Linked DNA regions of Homo sapiens: all the other regions are linked to region 3. Evidence: promoter capture Hi-C in 16 types of primary human blood cells and fetal thymus (Javierre and others, 2016). All regions are on one chromosome and are shown on one strand. The core of a region is centred on a gene start or on the middle of the fragment in contact, and the rest is flanking DNA. Distances in the headings are between cores, read along the strand shown. Region 1 has its middle 110 kb from the start of RDUR. Region 2 has its middle 150 kb from the start of RDUR. Region 3 holds the start of NXPE3 (neurexophilin and PC-esterase domain family member 3).

Region 1 (2,700 bases), core at 151-2,650, 280 kb before region 3:
GCTGCCATGCTTCCTGAACAGCCTACGGAACCATGAATCAGTTAAACCCCTTTTCTTTATAAATTATCCAGTATCAGGTATTTCTTCATAGCAATGTGAGAAGAGATGAATACAATATTCAAAAGAATTGAAAGCATAGACATGAAAAGATATTGGTACACTCATGTTCATAGCAACATTGTTCACAAGAGCTAAAAGGAAGAAACAACCCAAGTGTCTATTGGGATGAATGGATAAACAAAATGTGGTACACACACACACACACACACAAATATTATTCAGCCTTGAAAAGGAAGGAAATGCTACAACATGAATACATGTTGAGAATGTTGAAGTATGATTCTGTTTGTATAATGTATCTAGAATCATCAGACTCATAGAACTAGAAAGAAGAATGATGGTTGGCAGGGCCTAGGGGGAGGAAAGAATGGAGAGTTGTTTAGTGGGTATAGTGGGTTGTTGTTTAGTGGGTATATTCAGTTTTGCAAGATGAAAAAGTTCTGGAAATTAGTTGCACAACAATGTGAATATATTTAACACCACTGAACTGCACACTTAAAATTCAGATAAGTTTTATGTGTATTTTACCACAATAAACACTTTCAATTAAAAAATACAATACACCTATAATATAAGAGAAATCTCTCTATTGGACATTTGAATATGTGGGCACTAACTCCTTTTGTGTAAGCACATTGGTCTCAATATATCAAAAAGATTTTTTAATAAAAAAGGAAGGAAAAATCAATGGGCATTAGATCGTCTATAATGGGAATACTACAGTAACTTAAAATTCCTCTATATTCTATTCTTCCTCAATTTCTTGAAAAGTTTTTTGGTGATATCAGCAGTCCCTGGGTGATGAGTGAGGGCAGGACACTTTTCATACCTGGGATTCACCCTCTAGTGATTTGACATATCCACCCAGGGTTACTGGCTCACAAGGGTGGGTGCGTCTAACCATCTCTCCAGGAGACAAAATGGTTAAACAAGAGTAAAGGGCAGGTTTCTGGACCTTGAAGCTTTCTTTAAGATTGACCAGTGAACAAGATTTCTTCTCACTCCAGGCAGCAGATCCAGCATAAGGAAAGTTAGAGAGGCATGAGGAAAATACAGTTCAATCCCGACATCGATGAAGACTTCAGTGCTTTAGGTGCATGTGGCTGCTTAGGAGAGATCAGTGGCAGATAAGAATATGCTATTCATTATTTGGGGGGAAATTATTTAATCTCTCTAAGCTCAGCTTTTTTATTGTAAAAAATGGAGATAAAACTACTGACTTCACAGGATTCTTGTGAAGGTTAAATGGGGTTCATTGAAATGTCCTATCATATTGACTCACACATAAAGAGACACATAGTAATAGTTCATTACCAGTCTTAGCTGTAAATCATGAAAGATCTCATGATCTAAAGCAAAGAGTTTGAATTAGTCCTATAAAATATATTTTTTAATCTTTAAAGTTTTTTAAGAGTGATATGATCACATGTATATTTTAGAAAAGAACATTCAGTAATAACATGTTAGAAGTAGACAAGATTGGAGAGCAATAAAGGAAGGAAGAGTAGTTTCAAGGTTAGTGCAAGATTACAGATGACAAAAGAGGAGTGTGTAAGTAGTTACATTGCAATTAGCCAAAACAACCAAATAGTCCCTGTTTATTCTTAGTCAACAGAAATGGAAATGTTCATGTAAGCATGGAAAAGCCTTTTTATTTTCATTCTCTCTGTGTCTCCGAAAAGGAAAGAGGTAACAGTGAAAATAATAAATAAAGCTTTTTTACCCTGGGCCCTACAAACAACCAAAGATTTTTAATGTTATGGGGAGAGCAAGCATTATAAGGAAGAGAGGAAGTTTTCTGCCAGGCCTTTTGATATTATACTCCCCAGAGCTGGAACATACTGGTATCGTAAATGAGTACGATACCAGGTTCTCGAATCATGTTTTTATTCAACACACTTTTGTTATAATATTTATGAGAAAAAGCAAAATCAATTCCTGGCAGGGATCACTGTCTGTGTGGAGTTTGCATGTTCTCGCCAGGCCTGCTTGGGTTTTCTCCAGGTTCTCCGGCTTCCTCCTACATCCCAAAGATGTTAGGTTTATCGGTATATCTAAATTGTCCTAGACTGAGTGAGTGTGGGTGTGGGTATGAGTGTGCCCCGTGATGGGATGGCGTGCGGTCCAGGGCTGGTTCCCACCTTGCCTCCTGAGCTGCCCCATGATAGTCTCCCAGGCCACCTACGACTCTGAACTGGAATAAGTGGGTTGCAAAATAAATAAATGAACACAAGTTATTGCCAAATACAAATTTGTAATGAAATAAAACAATTTTTAAAATTCATAAAATCTATGATAATCATCCAAATGCATGACAATAAATGATGTGGTATGAATATTTGTAATTGTGTTTGAACTGCGTGGTGGGAGGAGGTGCTCTCTACCATTTTTACTTTGCAGACACTTATTCTTTGATTTAACCCACCACCACGAAGACTGCCATCACTCACTGATTCACCAAAAACTGGGTAAATAATTATCTGACTCGTTCTTATTAATCTTTCTTAAATATATGTATATAGCTCACACTTATTTCAATGTTTGATATTAGAAGTGTTTTGGGTCAGAAGTTTGGTAATGTTTTTGTTACCAGAAACATACCATAGGAACTTAACTCTTGTTTAAATCAATTAGCCTCTG
Region 2 (2,738 bases), core at 148-2,647, 310 kb before region 3:
ACTGAAAAAAATCTTCAGAGCTAACAGTTTCTGCCATTTGGTAAAAATTCAATGAAATCCATTCAATTGTTTTAATAGCTAATTAGCTGTGTCCCATTACTGTTTATCTCAGGCTCTAAAACATTGTCTGAAGGCATTTTCACAGCTTCATGTCACTAGGCATCTTTTCATCTGGAGTTTAACGGCAGCAACTACAAAAGAAGAATCGATCCCCTCTCTCCTCTCCCAGTGAGCACTTGCCTCTGAGGCTATTCCCTCTCTATACTTACATTTAAAATAAATAGATTCCTATGCAAAAAGTGGTTCGTTCAATGGGGAAGGAAAACCAGGCCCCAGTGTTTGTACTTAACTGGCCCATTAAAACCTTAAACTTAGATTTGAATCTAAGTTCATGTGCCATATCAACATAACTTCTGGCACACCTGATGCAGCTCATGGATCTGATAGCTCATAAATTCTCCCCCCACTGAAGTTATGTCCAAAGGCCAAATACAGAAAGACATTTTATTTGTGTGTGAACAGATTATGGCTTTATAAAGCACCAGCTTTGGAGCAGAGCCGTAATTTATGGCATTCAGACAGTACAAACAAGGATAAAGAAATACTATTATTTTCACCATGGAGCATTGAGTAGAAAAGAAATATAAATGTTAACCCATCTGGCATCACTGCATTGCAATATATCTGTTTTATGTTCTGTGTGAGATGAGATTTTTTTAATGCTTTTAAGATATCAAAATAAATTGCACAGACTTGTGATACCTTGGGGGTTCTACCTGGTGGCTGATATGATGGGGTGAACTACACACACAATAAAAGGGTTTATAAAGTTTAGAAATTGCCTAATCCAATATATTGGGAAGAATCAGATAAATGATGCAGGCCAAGAGAAGTTAGGTGTATGAATGCCAGCCCACATAATACAAGGACATTATTCTTGGGTCTAGGTAGACAAAATGTATTAGACTATTTGTAACTTCCATTGTGTTACAGAGATGTGGCCTCTGAATTCCAGAGCAGCTGACCTGTAGTCCCCAAGTCAAAGTAAGCTCTGTCTGAACGAATTCTCTTGAAAAGATTGGTCCTGAGCTTACAGGCCTCTGTTTGTGTGTACATCTAAAAATAACCTGGAGAATTATACTGCTAATAGGAAGGAAGATGCCACACATTTTCTTCTGTTTTTGGCCTTTGCCTGCTTTTCTATAAGATAGCTTGATTTTTATATCAATTCATCATGTCTATTTTATGTTTTGTAGATATTTTTGCCAGTCCATCATTTGTCTTAACTTTGCTTATGGTATCATTTGCTCAATCAGAACTTAAAAAAAAAGCAAAATTTTAATCTAGTCAAGTTTATCCATCTTTATTTATAGTTAAGAATGTCTTCCTCACACATGGTGAAACAAACTTTCTCTGAAATTTCTTTGAATATTTTCACTATGTTTTTTCATTTATGTCTTTAATCAATCTCAGATGGTTTTTTGCATGAGCTGACATAAATAAATTTTCAAAAACATGAAAAGATGCCCCTTGCATCACATCTGACAGGAAAATATAGCAATATGACATACCACTACTTTCAAATCAGAGTGGCAAAAATTGTACAGTAATCTTTGATGGGTAGTGTGTATATAAAAAGGATTCCTGCATACTGTCACTTGGCCTGTGATTTGCTATAGCCTTTTTGAAATGTAATCTGATGACACATTTCATTTGATAATCTAATACTTAAAAATAAAAAAGCACTGATGTATAATATTTAAAAAAGAAGTTCAGTGCATCTCTGTTTATTAACAGTAAAAATCGGCCAGGCACAGTGGCTCATGCCTGTAATCCCAGCACTTTGGGAGACCAAGGTGGGTGGATCGCCCACAGTCAGGAGTTCAAGACCAGCCTGGCCAACATGGCAAAACCCTCATCTCTACTGAAAATACAAAAATTAGTCGGGCTTCGTTGTGCTTACCTGTAATCCCAGCTACTTGAGAGGCTAAGGCAGGAGAATCGCTTGAACTCAGGAGGCAGAGGTTGCAGTGAGCCGAGATTGCACCATTGCACTCCAGCCTGGGTGACAGCAAGACCCCATCACAAAAAAAAAAAAAAAAAACAGTAAAAATTATCCATATGTCTGTCATTAGAAAGACTCCTGCACAGCCAGTTTATTTGGAAGGTGACTCCAAGAGGGGATCATGGGACCAGGGAGAATGAGGCGGGGAAGATTGAAAAGCCCAATTAAAAATGGAAGTTGATCACTCCTGAAAGCAACAGCACTTGATTCTGCCTCCTGAATAACTTACAGAATTGCCCACTGGCGGTCAGGAGGTGGGAGCACAGCCATTAGAGAGAAACTCTAGAGAAAAAAAGCAAAACAACTCAAGACACATACTTGAGTCAAGATGCTGTCAGCACAAGCTGATTCTACATTCACGTGGAACTGTCCCCTTCAAGTGTGGCTGACATCAGAGGTGGCCCAACTGGACATGTCATGAGGCTCCTGGTAGGTGAACGTTTGAATAAATTATGGTATATCAGTCATATAGAAAATTATGCAGCCACTTAAAAATGAGTGAGATACACATATATTGACCTAGAAAGATGTAATAATATATTAGCAAAGTAAACTATGGCACACCCTTTTTGTCATGTTTTCCTTTTTAAAAACTTTTTTAATTTTTGTGGGGACATAGTAGGTGTATATATTTTATCATATTTTCCTTTTTAAAATTAAAAATATACGTGTG
Region 3 (2,700 bases), core at 140-2,639:
TAGGAATAGGCCCAAGAAGTAGCTTTTTTTAAAAAGGTCCCTAGATGATTACAACATACAGCCAAGTGGGAGAACCACTAGTATAGAGTGGCCAGGGACTGTTATTCGTTTCAGTTGGTAAAAGGATGGCCTTTCCAAAATGATGTTTGAATTGTAACTTAAATTGTCAGGTCAGGACAACCCAATTCCCAGGCAATGGGGAAGGCTAACCCCACTTCAGTGATTTATCCCTTCGTTTCCTTTCTCAGTAACAAATAACAGCACTCTATTGGCCCCAAAGAGATTGTGAGGATAACAGACATGGAAAAAAAAATACTAAACAAATTCAAAGAAAAGCAGAACCCAAACACTACGGAGAAATAGTATACTGCTGCCTCCAAACAATTATCAGGGTCTGGGAGTCCTGCCAGTTTCAAATATATCCTGATGTTCCAAATGATAATTAACCACAGTGAGGAGCGGGGAGGCCCACCAAAGCAGTGTGATTCTTTATCTTTAGGAAATGTGGCAACAATCCCCCTTTAATGTAAATAATGAAAAGCAAAGAAAATTTACAATTTTGCACAAATGCTGCATAAATCCTGCCTCGGAACCCCTCTTATTACCACCCTAGTGGCCTTTGATCAGGCAGAAATGGGCAACAGGCCAGGGTCTCCATATCACACCTTGTAAAGTTACACTCGTTTCTCCCCATACGACCTGAATCTGATGTCCCCAAACGGCAGCTCAGTAAGGCCAGAACAGTCCACCGTGTGACAGCAGCGCCAGCCAAGAGGCAGCTGGTGCCCAGAGCAGCGATGAGCCGAGAGATATGAGATGGGCAGGGAGGCGTCGCCAAGTGCTCCGCACCGGGTTAGTGAAGGTGCCTGGAGGACAGAAGTCTTTCGCTGCGGCGTGGAGGTCCGAACTGTACCGAGCTGTGGCGTTGCCGCAAGTGGAGGAAACTGAGGATGGAGATGCTCGCTCCCGGCCCCGCCCCGCCCCGCCCCGCCGGTACTAGCCTGGGCTCCGGCTTCTTAGCTGCGACGCTTTGGCAACCCAGGGCTCCAATTCTGCCTATGCCTTCGACCCGGGCCTCCCCTCCCTGGCACCTATGCCCACAGCCACGACTCCAGGGGCTGCACCTATCAGCACGGGGCTGGGGACTCGGGAGCAGATGCGCGCGGAGGGAGGGGCTTCGCAGTCTAGGAGCGCGCTGGCAGAGCCGGGCAATGGGTCGCTCCGCCCGCAGCGGCCCCTCCCGACGTCCGCACACAGACCACATCCAGCACTCACCTCCGGGACCCGCCCGCCCTTCGCTCTCCGGGGGCCAGGGATCCTGACGCCCCGGTCGGTCGCCGCAGCGCCAGGCCGCTAGCCCCCCGCTTCCTCACCCGGCGACGTCTCCTCACCTCCGACCCCCGGCTACGATTGGTGGAGCTTCGGCGGGGGCGGGCCGAGGGCGTTGACTGACAGCAGCACGCGCCGGGCGGAACCCACAGGCCTGGAAGCGAAGTTGGCACCCTGGCGCTCTACGCCGCCAAGCTCCTGCTCGCGACGCGACACTGCAGCTGTCGCCCCGCGGATCGAGGTCTGGCCCCTCTCACGACCCAACTCCTCGTGAACTTCGGACGTCTGAGTTTCCTGGGAGCATCCACCTACCTCAAGGCTTTTCGCTTGTCAGCGAAAGTGCCCACAACCGCAGTTGACTCTAGTAGGGCAGTCTTTCCTGTGGAGTGATGGAATTTATTGTGCCCTGAACCAGAGAAATGCGATTTGCCAAGTATAAGCACGGATATAGCGGATCCTTGAATCTTTTCCTTGCTTTGACATTAGTCAACAACTTCTACTCGCCAGTAAAACAGCCCGTTCCTTTTACTCTCACTGTACATGATGTCGGTCTCTTGGCAAAGCATACTTTCCTCACCCTCCACCATCCCCAATTCTGGGTTATCCTATTTTGGACATTTTTCTAACTGGTAAAACGTCGGTAGCAGTTTTGTGAAATTCAGGAACTGAGAGGAGTCCTGAGAAGACACTTGTTCAAGAAACCAGAAGGAATTGTGGGCTGCACCGTGTTTCTCTGTGCTTGGAGCACAGTGGGGTTAACACAGGCCCCAAAAGCAGGCCTGCCCCCGGACTATTACCCCAAGGTTTAAGAAAAATAATTAATGTACATGACAACTAAGTATTTTTCCATTTCTTGACCATAATGGACTCTGCATGCTCATTCAGATGTTTTCATGGCAGGCCTGCTTCGTGGGCAACCAGATCCGTGAATGGGATAAAAGGAAGTTCTGCCACAGGGTGGAAGATCTCTTCTGTAGTAATGATCTTCTTTTTTTTTTTTTTAATATACTTTAAGTTCTAGGGTACATGTGCACAACGTGCAGGTTTGTTACATATGTATACATGTGCCATGTTGGTATGCTGCACCCATTAACTCGTCATTTACATTAAGTATATCTCCTAATGCTATCCCTCCCCCCTCCCCCTACCCCACAACATGCCCAGGTGTGTGATGTTCCCCTTCCTGTGTCCAAGTGTTCATTTATGCAGCCAACAAACACATGAAAAAATGCTCATCAGCACTGGCCATCAGAGAAATGCAAATCAAAACCACAATGAGATACCATCTCACACCAGTTAGAATGGCGATCATTAAAAAGTCAGGAAACAACAGGTGGTGGAGAGGATGTGGAGAAGTAGGAACACGTTTAC

What was found. The method cuts DNA at HindIII sites, captures the fragments that hold promoters and counts their contacts. A CHiCAGO score of 5 or more calls a contact.
Region 1: a contact is called between a fragment that was not itself captured here and the fragment with the promoter of NXPE3 in region 3, in 2 of 17 cell types (non-activated CD4 T cells and naive CD4 T cells). The highest score is 5.7, in non-activated CD4 T cells.
Region 2: a fragment that was not itself captured here is called in contact with the fragment with the promoter of NXPE3 in region 3 in 2 of 17 cell types (non-activated CD4 T cells and naive CD8 T cells); the score reaches 8.2 in non-activated CD4 T cells.

Annotation. Positions count from the first base shown.
Region 1 is chr3:102,054,206-102,056,905 of GRCh38, reverse strand. No RefSeq gene overlaps it. Among named protein-coding and RNA genes, the nearest start is that of RDUR, 110 kb to the right of the region's middle. The HindIII fragment of the contact is 752 bases long and covers 1,025-1,776 here.
Region 2 is chr3:102,087,104-102,089,841 of GRCh38, reverse strand. No RefSeq gene overlaps it. Among named protein-coding and RNA genes, the nearest start is that of RDUR, 150 kb to the right of the region's middle. The HindIII fragment of the contact is 7,656 bases long and covers 1-2,738 here.
Region 3 is chr3:101,777,900-101,780,599 of GRCh38, reverse strand. It overlaps NXPE3 (neurexophilin and PC-esterase domain family member 3), which reads right to left and starts at 1,389. Exons shown (of 8, transcript NM_145037.4): 1 at 1,276-1,389. RefSeq lists enhancers at 667-716, 1,281-1,575 and a silencer at 1,127-1,476. The HindIII fragment of the contact is 3,350 bases long and covers 1-2,700 here.